Regions from separate parts of the Homo sapiens genome. Here all the other regions are linked to region 1. The links are contacts of gene promoters, found by promoter capture Hi-C in human tissues and cell types (Jung and others, 2019). All regions are on one chromosome and are shown on one strand. The core of a region is centred on a gene start or on the middle of the fragment in contact, and the rest is flanking DNA. Distances in the headings are between cores, read along the strand shown. Region 1 holds the start of LGALS9 (galectin 9). Region 2 has its middle 69 kb from the start of NOS2. Region 3 overlaps KSR1 (kinase suppressor of ras 1).

Region 1 (3,700 bases), core at 495-2,994:
TCTCCCTTCTCCTTTGGTGAACATTTGCACTGTTTCCAGCCTGGGGCAATGATGAGTAAAGCTGTTAAAAACAGGCACATATGTTTTCCTTTCTCTTGGGTAATTTTTTAGAAGTAGAAAAGCCAGAACATAGAAGTAGATATTTGACTGTATTACAACTCACCAAGCAGTTTTTCTTTTTATTTTTTATTTTTCAATTTTTTGAGACAGAGTCTTGCTCTATTACCCAGGCTGGAGTGCAGTGGCGTGATGAGGGTTCACTACAGCCTTGACCTCCTGGGGTCAAGTGAGCCTCCCACCTCAGCCTCCCATGTAGCTGAGACCACAGGTGTGCACCACCACACCTGGCTAATTTGTTTGTTAAATTATATGTAGGGACAGGGTCTTCCAACCTTTCCCGAGCTGGTCTCAAGCTCCTGGGCTGAAGTGATCCTCCTGCCTCAGCCTCTCAAAGTGCTGGTATTATAGGCATAAGCCACCACGCCCTGCCCATTTTTCTAAGTTGGATTATTTTACACTCCAGTCTGCTGTGAATGAGAGTTCCAGTTGTTGCGTATCGCAATCAATTTGTGATTGCCTACAAATGATGTGCCGTGATGAAATTGTCCCTGGTGTCCGAGAGGATCGCAAAGAATTTCCCTTCCTTTCTCTCCTTTCTGCTCCCCTTGTACTGTCTACTCCTTAAACTGGTACTTGATCCAGGAACATAATGGGGATGGACAGTGCAGATGGCACACATGGCCTCAGTCTATTGGAGCATCTCAAAGGAATTAGTCTGCAAATTCTAGTGCATCTAGGTGGAGCACAGGAAGGAAGAGAGGTGCAGACTCACGTATGGCCCTGGGGCACCTGCCATCCTCTCGCACCCGTACAGCCCTTACCTGCCAGCACTTACCCTACCCAGCTTGAGTTCTGGGCCTTCTCACCAGCACATCGCTGGGACCTGGTCGACTTCAGGTAAGTTTATTTCATGGCTCCCTCCCCCACGACCTGCACATGCCATATGTTCCTTCCCAGCCCCATGTCACTTGAAATGTTCTATCATGTCCAAGACTTCTCTCCTCATCCTAAAGTGCAGAAAATAAGGATGGAGAAGAGAAGGAGAAGAGAATCAAGAGAGATTCATTGAGAGGGAGGATCAGAAGCTCCTGGGCACCCCATACTGTAGAATAAAAATATTCATTATGGTGTTTTTCTTGCAAAATATTCCCCTCTACATAATTATGTTTTTACATGAATAATATAAATTTAAACAGGAGAAATACTTTTTGAAGAGTCTGAGAATCTTCATAAAGTTCAGGCGGCCACGAATTAGCTGTGTGACCTGGGGCATGCCCCTTAGACTCTGAGCCTCAGCTTCTCTGTATGTAAAATGGGTTGAAGCCGCCCTTCCCCACAAGCACCCTGTGCACAGGCAATGCCCAGCCCCATTATTTTCTGGACTCCGTGGCCAAGCATGCTTAGGACACACAGCCACATACTTCTGGGCAGTGTCATCTGGCAACTTGCTGTCATGTCAGTGTGGTCAAGCATTGTAGACCTCTATGAACCAAATATGCTTCAGGCTTGGGTTGAGCACAGGAGAGGGAGGAGGGAAAGGTCACTGGGGCTGGGAGTGCCTACTTCCCTCTGTGAGTGTCACCCCAGTCCACCCAGTACCATACCTTTCTCTCTCTGGACCCACTTCCTTTTGCTGCCGGCTCCTCCCCATTGAATAACAGCCAAGTTGCTTTGGTTTCTATTTCTTTGTTAAGTCGTTCCCTCTACAAAGGACTTCCTAGTGGGTGTGAAAGGCAGCGGTGGCCACAGAGGCGGCGGAGAGATGGCCTTCAGCGGTTCCCAGGCTCCCTACCTGAGTCCAGTGAGTTCCAGGGCTATGGGCACAGGGCTGCCTCAGCCAGAGGGACACAGCTCTGGGGCTCTGAGGAAGCAACTCCTGGGTGGCAGGGGATGGGGGTGGGGGCATCCCAAAGAGAACACAAGCAGGGCAGAAATATCAGAGGAGGTCATCCTGGCACACCTGTGCCGTGCTGAGCTCACTCATGCCTGGAGGGATGCTCCTTCCCACGAGTCATGGCTTTGACAGTGTTGACTGAGCTGTCCTGTCCTGTCCTGTCCTGTGTGCTCAGGGGAAGACATGTAGAGCGGGGTGGTTCATGTAAAGAGGAAGCAAGCACGCTTCTGGGACAGTAAGGACGCTACCCGGCATGGTAGTTAAGGGTGCTTACTGTGAAGGTGGCCTCCCTGGGTCCAGCTATTTACTGGCTGGTGGTCTCTGGGCCTCAGTTTCCATATCTGTGAAGTGGGAATAATACTTGAGCCCCCCACTCCCAGGGTTGGGATATGGATTAAGGAAGTAGTGTATCTAGTGTGTTTGAACAGTGCCTGACACACTGTAGGTGCTTTGGGAGTGTTTCATGTTATTGGGTGTCTGAGGGCAGCAGGGAAGACCTCCCGAGGAGGTGTCTGTGCTCTGAAGGTTGGGCATGGGCATGTTCAGGGCATCTGTGGAGGGGCAGTCTCAGAGGTGAGAGGGGGGTGAGGACTGTCCCTGCAGCGTGGGGTCAGAGGGCGGCAGGTGCCTTGCTGAAACCCTGTGAGGTTTATGAGTCCCCTTCATACACGGAAAATCTGAGGCTCAGGGAGGCAGAGGCCAGTTGCCAAATGCCTCCAGATGGGAGTGGCAGCCCCAGGAGCCCAGGAGACTTCAGGGGTCACTGTGTCCTGGGCCGGCTCCTGTCATAGGATCTCACCCCGCCTTGGCAAAGAGCTTCCCGAGGGGCTGGAGAGGGTGGGCTGATGGGTCCTTCCTGGGTGGGGAGGCAGGGTGGGGAGGGTGGGCAGAGGCAGGGTACTGAGGGAGGGAAGCTGCCATGGCCCACCTCAGCAGAGGCCAGGGTCGGGCTTGAGTGCCCCCTGGTGACACTGAGTCCAGAATGAGGCTGCCTACGTTCTGGTCTGCAGAGCTCGGCTCTGCTTTCTAAACTCCAGAGAGAAAGAATGGGGAAAGGAGGCCTGTTTCCTCCTGGCTGTCACCAATGACACCTCAGCCACCCTGTGGAGGCCCCTGAGGTAGGACCTGCACAGAGGGGGCTGGGGGAAGCTGGAACAGGCCGCTGGTGGGGGCCTTAGGGTCAGCAGGTGCTGCCTTGGGCATGTCACCCTGTCTCTGGTTTTCTGTCAAAGAGGGGATCCCAGAGCTTCTTCCAGGTTCTGACATATTATTATTCTGGTGACTGGTTTTTACTTTCTAATCCTTGGATTCAGAAGGAAAATTATCCTACGGACATCAGAGAGTTAAAACAGGGCCTTGGAGTCCAGACAAGAAAGATGATCAGTGCAGCCCCTATGGGTGTCCAGAGTACCCCTCTACCCCACGGGGGCTCCCCTGGGTTGGGACAATTAAGCCTCACTTGGTGACCCATCTGGCAGTCGGAGCCACGCTTCCTCCACATGCCGACAGTGGGGGAAGGTCACGCGGTTCGCTGTCCTGCTGAGGAGGGCTGAGTGCCATGAGGGCCTGGCTTGGAAACCTCACTCCCACTTCTTGTCTGGCCTCATCTAGCCCAGCCTCTTTGGAGGGCCTGGGGGAAGCTGGAACCACGTGCTGTGTGGTCCAGGAAGCACTGGGAGAGCCAGGAATAAGGATGTTCTCAGCTTACTCATGAGAGGAAGCCTGTGTGGTGGTTAGAAGCGTGGG
Region 2 (3,700 bases), core at 446-2,945, 100 kb after region 1:
TGCTATATGGAAGAATTTTCACTCCCCTGATGTGTTTGTATAATAGAATGTATTTTTCCCCTTTCCCCTGTGAAAACTTTATGGAAAGATTATTTCAGTGTTAACCCTGACTGATATTTTACTAATCAAACAAGTGTCTGTTACTCCTTTATTCATTAATTTATCAAGCACTTAATGAGTGTCTTCTGTGTGCTAGGCACTGCACTAGACTCTGGGGAGTCAAAGATGAATCACACTTAGTCTCTAACCACTGGGAATTCATTCTGGTTAGAGAAATTATAAACAAATAATTATGATCCTATGGGATATTTTTAAAGTATGAAATGAGATAATGTATGTGAAAAAAACTTTGTAAGCCTTACACATTTAAGATTCTTTTCTCCAGTGGATAGCATGATGCCTGACATATTTTTAAATGCTCATTATACCTTTAAATGAACTGGTAAAGAGCCAAGAGTTATGAGAGCATAATACTAGAGTGTAGTAGATGGATTTGTTCTGCCTTGGTGGACAGGTGGGATGTGGAGATTTCCAAGAATATAACTTTTGAACTGGACTTGGAAATATAATTTGTTTAAGAATCGAGAAAGGAGGTTCTGCGGGGGCAGCTATCAGTCGTTAAACTGCCTGGATTTAGATGAACCACGTATCTATAGGCTTTTACAGTTTACAGGATGCTTTTGTTTACAGTATCTCTTTTGAGCCTTATGACAGGTCCATGAGGTGAGTTCATACAACCAAGAGAAGCCTTGACCAGAACCTGGGTTCTCAGGTGTAAGAGACAGCATCTGGCCAGTTTATTCTTTACAGTTTCATGGATGTTATGATTGCTAATATTATTGTATTTCTATTATTATATTTGTGAAAGCATGGTTTTTTGAGTTACAAGTATGTGAAAGAAAAATGTATACATGTCATGAAATGTATAGTTTTCTTTTTATTTCTCTAAAGAAGTTTAGCTTGTATTAATACATGAGGAGTTTTTTTCCAGAGGTTTCAGAAACAAGTTAGAAAATGCTTCCATAATATTTCATAGATTATTTAAGATTCAAGCAGTTTTTCAGGATTTAAACCATTTAAACCATTTATCTAATGAACAGTAAGTAGTAACTCTGAGCTCTACATTCTCTTGTAAGCTTTCTTTTTCTGTTATAGTTGAGCACATTTGTTGACATTTTTATTTTTTACACCAAAATGTTTGGTTAAAATACTTTGGGGAGAAAAATAAAGAACTTTTTTCTCATTTATAGTTGACTTCCTATTTTGTGTATATTGTCTTCTGTATGTATTAAGACAGTGAAGTATTGGTGAAAGACCAGGTAAATAGATCAATGGAACAGAATAGGCACCCCAGAAATAGACCTATACAAATAGAGTCAGCTGATCTTTGGCAGAGGAGCAAAGGCAATTTAATGGAGAAAAAATTGTCTTTTCAACAAATGGTGCTGGAACAACTAGACAACCACATGTGGAATAATGAATATAGACACTGACCTTACACCTTTCCCAATAATTAACTCAAAACAGGTCATAGACTTAAATGAAAAACAAAAAACTAGAAAATTTCTAGGAGTTTAATAACATAGGGGAAAATCTAGGTGACCTTGGGTTTGGCAATGAGATTTTAGATACAACACAAAAACACCATCTACAAAAGAGAAAATGGACAAGATTGACTTCATTAAAGTAAAACATGTCTGCTGTGCCAGTGACACTGTTAAGAATGAACAGACAGGTGGGCACGGTGGCTCACACCTGTAATCCCAACACTTTGGGAGGCCAAGGTGGGCAGATCACAAGGTCAGGAGTTCAAGACCAGCCTGGCCAACATGGTGAAACTCATCTCTACTAAAAATACATAAATTAGCTGGGCATGGTGGCCAGCACCTGTAATCCCAGCTACGCAGGAGGCTGAGGCAGGAGAAATGTTTGAACCCTGGAGGTGGAGGTTTCAGTGAGCCAAGATTACACCACTATACACCAGCCTGGGTGACAGGGTGAGACTCCATCTCAAGAAAACAAAACAAAACAAAACAAACAAACAAAAAAACTAAATATGGTCTTACCATACATTCTAGCAGTCATGCTCCTAGTGATTTTCCTAAATGAGTTGAAAACTTATGTCTACACAAAAACCTGTATATTAACACTTTACAGAAGCTTCATTCATAATTGCCAAAAGTTGGAAGCAATCAAGATGTCCTTAAATAAGTGAATGGATAAACAAATGGTGGTACATCCATGCAGTGGAATATTATTCAGCCATACTAAGAAATAAGCTATCAAGCCCAGAAAAGATGTGGGGACACTTTAAATGCATAAAAGCAGCCAGTCTATGAAGGCTACATGTTGTATAATTTTAACTATATGACATTCTGGAAAAGAAAAAACTATAGAGACAGAAAAAAGATCAGCAATTCTTGGGTTGAGGATGGGAAAGGGAGGAAAAACGAATAGGTGAATCACAGGCTACTTAGGGCAGTAAAACTCTTCTGTATGATACTGCAAGGATGGATCCATGACAAAACCCCCACCATCGTGCAATGCAAAGAGTCAACTCTAAAGCATGGCATTTAGTTAGTAATTTATGGGTACTGGGTGATCAGTTGTAACACATGTGCCACACTAAGGCAAGAGGTAATCACAGGTGAAGGAGAAGGGGTATACAGTGTGTACCTTCTACTGAATATTTCTATGTGACTAAAACTGTTCCAAAAATAATTATTTTTGTTTTTAAAAAAGTAAAAAGTGATTTTCCAGTATCTCACTGCTAATGGCTTAGCCTTTTTTTTTATTCTTTCCTTGAACTGAGTAGGAATCTGAGTCTGTCAGTTGCTTCACTTTCTGTCTCCCAGTAACTTGCTGTGATTATGAAAATGTTTGTGCTAAACAACCCATGAACAAAGCAAATAAAGATATTCCTTCATCTACCCAGACTGAAAGGAAATATGCCACCACATCAATGTTAATGGAAGAGAGATTACAGCTGGTTTCTCCTTTCATCTTTGTTTTCCTGTATTTTCCAAATGTTCTCTGTAAAATAAAAAGCTCTTAGCACTAAAACAGTATATATGTATTCCACTGCAGCTTAATTGTATTCAGTTAACATAATTGAAGAGATTAAATAAGAAATGTAGAAATAAGTAAGACATAGATCTTAAGGATCTCTCTGGTTAACTGTAAGTGAAAGACTATCTCACCACAATGCTTGATGTAAACGGTCTGATTGGTGAGTGACAACATCATCAATTATTGCAGCTTGCAAAGGGATTGATTTTTAAATTTTTACTTATTAATTATATACTTGCTTATTTGTTTTCTCATTTACTTGCTTTCTTATTTGCTTATTATTTACTCACTTTCCTATTGCTTTAAAAGAGGATTCTAATTAGATATTATCTAAGTGATTAGGCCGAGTTCTTACATTTTGTTGGTTTAAATTACTTTAAGATATATGTTTGAAATCACATGTTTACTCTTCAAATGTGTGCCATTTGCAGTGTGTGTGTTGGGGGAAATGAGTTATTTTTTGATGGGAAATGAGTTATTTTTTAAAAAGAGAATTATTTAGATATGGCTTTAGTGATTCCTTAGCACGATAACTGGTGATGAAATGTAGCTTATTGTTTTCAGCTAGTTTACATTGGTCTTGAGACAAACAGATATTTGTTTCTTAATTACAGGCTCTAGATGACTTTAT
Region 3 (3,700 bases), core at 814-3,313, 110 kb before region 1:
TGTGGGGGATTTCTGACACTGTTAAAACCAAACAAAAAGCAAGGAGCTCTACTGAGCTGTATGATTATTTAGGCTCTAAATTGGGACGGGTTGTGGTGAGGGACCTAGAGTCTAAGACCAAAGGAAAGTCCCTGGTCCATGGCACAGGCTTTGAATGTGGGCCCCACCACCTGAGAGCTGTGAGCTTTGGGAGGAGCTCTTCATCCAGCCCAGCTGGGAGTGGGGATAGTAAAACTGTTTCCCCAGCCGGGAGTGGGGATAGTAATACTGAACCTGGCAGGGCTGCTGTTAGACCATGGGTACTCAGTGCAGCAGAGTCTCTGTAAATGGCAGAGGTGGTGCTTTGCAGATGGGAGAAGGGAATAAACCTGTAGCTGATGTCAGGCCCTTTGTTGCACCCTTTATACCGAATGAATTATTTCATTTCACTCCATAACACCTCTGAAATAGGCTACACTGTTCCCATTTGACAGACACCAAAATGAGTTTCGGAGAGTTTCTGAAACTTGTCCAAGTTCATGTAGCAAATGGAGTTTAACTTCCAAATTCTTTCCACCTTGCCATGAGAAAATTTCCATTCCTGCAGAAGATGGCCTTCTATAAAGGGCACCGAAGGGATTTAAGTCACACCTTGGGACACATTCCTAGATCCAAGTGGTTTCTGTATGTTATAGGCCAGACAGTAGCAAATGCAAAGGTAAATTTATGTGCCTGTGGAGGGGGAGAATTAATTTTTTCCCCTCCCTGGACTTTAACTCTGGAAAGCTTAATCTTCTAAAGCTTAATCTTTAGAAAGGGCTCAGAAACTCTGCTTGGTGCGCATAATAAGTGTTGTGTCCCCAAGGCATTTGTTAGATAAAACGAAAATTAAATAAATAAATAAAATGCTAATCGTGCCACCAGCCCTGAAGTCTCCTTGTCTCTGCTGGCTTTTCCGTGCAGAACGGGCACAGTGGAGCTTTGTTCTTCTGCCCCTTTGTCCGGACGAGGCCTCTCAGGGGCTGGCTCACAGGCAGGGAGGCCAGGCTGTGCCCGCCCAGGTTTCCCAGGCCCCGCTGCCTCCAACTCTCACTGGCCTCCTTTTCCCGAGGGTGGGGCGGCCCCCTGCCAGTGGATTGGAGGGGTGCTGCCTTCCCCCTTACCCATTTGTCCCAGTGGCCAAAAGGGGCTGAAAGCAGGTAGCTGGAGGATGCGGGAGACGTGTGATTCCCTGTTTGCCAGTTGGCCTAACTGGAATCTTCCTGAAATCATTGTATCCCTGTGAGCAGACAGCAGGCACTATGGGCTGTTTGGCCTTGGGTTCGCTTCCTGCCTTGGGCAGTCTGTGGAATGGGGCCCGGTCCTCAAGCACTTGTGGCTGTCACCAGCAGGAAGTTTGTTCAGCACCGTGGTTCTGAACCCTGTCCTCATGTTTGAATCATGGGTGCTTTTAAAACACATCCATATCAGGAGCACAGCCCTGGGCCAGCTGACTTAGTACCTCTGGGGTGGGAACTGGCCCAGGCATCTCTATATGTATACCCGCTCCAAGTGATTCTGATACACAGGGAGGGTGGAAAGCCCCTGGTTAGGATACCCAAGCTGAAAGGACTGCTCAGGAGTTGCTTGTTCCACCCTTCAGTTTACCCATGAGGACAGTGAGTTGACAAAGGCCATTCCTTTTTTTTTTTTTTTTTTTGAAACAGGGTCTAGCTCCATTGCCCAGGTTGGAGTGCAGTAGCTCACTGGAGCCCCGACTTCCTGGGCTCAGGCAAGCCTCTTGCCTCAGCCTCTTGAGTAGCTAGGATCACAGGGTCTAGCTCCATTGCCCACGTTGGAGTGCAGTAGCTCACTGGAGCCCTGACTTCCCGGGCTCAGGCAAGCCTCTTGCCTCAGCCTCTTGAGTAGCTAGGATCACAGACATGAGCCACCACGCCTGGCTAGTTTTTGAATTTTTTTGTAGAGATAGGGTCTCACTGTGTTGCCCAGGCTGGTCTCAAACTCCCTAGGCTCAAGTGATCCACCTGCCTTAGGCTCTCAAAGCGTGGGGATTGCAGGTGTGAGCCACCACGCCTGGCCTGCAAAGGCTACTCTGATGGAGGCAGGTGGGTTAGAACCAGGTCTCCTGACGTCTGAGCTCCCAAAGCACCACCTGTTGCCCTGTTAATCCACACTCTCATGGCTATGGGAAAGGCAGGCAGTTGGAATTATGATGTTGATGATAAAAATGTCTGCTTATCACCCATGCTGCTAGGGAGACCAGGCTTAGTTAGGTTTACTTTCTCTGTTCTTTCCTTTCTCTTGCACATATTTACCATTGCATCTTTTCACATGACATCACAAGTATTTATTTTCTAGGCCATGAGTTCTCAGAGGTCAAGTTCTGGATAATGGCTGGGTTTTTGTTACAGCCATTCTTATACACTGGTACCTGGCCAGAGCAAGCTTTCAATAAATGTTGTGGAGTGGAAAGGTGGATACCAGACCCCAGCCTTGAGCCCGGTGGAGTGTCTCTCTGAGCCCCTGGGTTAAGTGGGTCAAGGCAACTACCCTTTGCACTTGGGGCAAGTTGACATGAAAAATCCATAGACAGGCAGAGTCAGGAAAAACAGGACTGAGAAGGGGCTATGAACTTGATCCTAGGAATACTGGCTTACTTGAAACTAAACAACCACGCAATCCTCCACACAGCTTTGGCCCCCGCTCCCCGTGGCCCTCCCGCCCAGCTCGCCTTTGCAGTGAGCAGATCCAGTATACATGTCACAGCTGGAATCTGGCTTGTGTTTGGAAATAAACAACTTGGCCCCTCTCTCTGCCTGGGATTTTCCTTTATCAGGAGATGCTCATGAGCCACCACCAGAGATGAGGTGTTTCTTTCCAGCAGAGATGAGATGTTCTTTTCAGCAGCCTGCCTGAGAGCTCCAGGGAAAAGTGGGAGGGCTTTGTGGTGGGACAAACACCTTCACATTGTCCTTTTCTGGTTGGTATTGGAGAGGGCTTGAGTGAGTAGGCTGGATATGAAATAATTTGAGGGGTGGTGAATGCAAAGGACTAATCCACCAACCCCCCAGCAAGTTTGCAATGAGGGAAAGTCTCTGTCTTGCAAGAGGAGACACCATAGATAGAAAGCAATGGGTGCACCACTCTGAATGCTGGCTGCCCAGCTAGGTTGCTTTTTGCAGGGTGGTCTGTCCTCAGGCAGCAGCCAGACAACATTTTGGGGAGAGTAGCTCAGGGGATTCCTGTGTTTCTGCTGTAGCTAGTTCAGGGTACTAAGAAAGAAAAAAAGGATCCTGCTACCATCATGTTAGGTAGAAATTGGCAGTTTAGAAATACAGCATGGGGAGGGGCCTCCTCTCTCACACAGGGCCCTGGGGAGTGTAAATTGGTACAACTACTCTCAAGAGAACTTGACTAGATGTGGTGAAGTTAGGGATACACATACCCTATAGCCAAAAATTTTACTTCTATTGTCTGTACTGGAAAAACTAGCATGCAAGTGCTCAAGGAGAAATAGATGTACATTGTAACATTTTTGGTGATGATGAAAAACTAGAAGGAAACTAAAAGCCTATTAGCCAGGAAATATATCAATAAATGACGGTTTACACAGTGTAGTACTTTTCACCAGTTCCATCTGACTTACATGAATCAGCCCGACTACATTTAAGAAAAACGTTGGTAGAAAGGTTGCAGAATATCTGTAGTAATGATACCATTT

What was found. The method cuts DNA at HindIII sites, captures the fragments that hold promoters and counts their contacts. A contact is called where the count stands out against the background at its distance.
Region 2: a fragment that was not itself captured here is called in contact with the fragment with the promoter of LGALS9 in region 1 in 2 of the 25 tissues and cell types used here (spleen and thymus).
Region 3: a fragment that was not itself captured here is called in contact with the fragment with the promoter of LGALS9 in region 1 in 2 of the 25 tissues and cell types used here (spleen and thymus).

Annotation. Positions count from the first base shown.
Region 1 is chr17:27,629,444-27,633,143 of GRCh38, forward strand. LGALS9 (galectin 9) reads left to right here and starts at 1,745. Exons shown (of 11, transcript NM_009587.3): 1 at 1,745-1,861. The coding sequence starts at 1,823. RefSeq lists enhancers at 1,370-2,187, 1,655-1,774. The HindIII fragment of the contact is 14,549 bases long and covers 1-3,700 here.
Region 2 is chr17:27,729,979-27,733,678 of GRCh38, forward strand. No RefSeq gene overlaps it. Among named protein-coding and RNA genes, the nearest start is that of NOS2, 69 kb to the right of the region's middle. The HindIII fragment of the contact is 5,964 bases long and covers 1-3,700 here.
Region 3 is chr17:27,519,676-27,523,375 of GRCh38, forward strand. The region is part of intron 1 of KSR1 (kinase suppressor of ras 1); the gene reads left to right. Among named protein-coding and RNA genes, the nearest start is that of KSR1, 65 kb to the left of the region's middle. RefSeq lists an enhancer at 1-473. The HindIII fragment of the contact is 4,326 bases long and covers 1-3,700 here.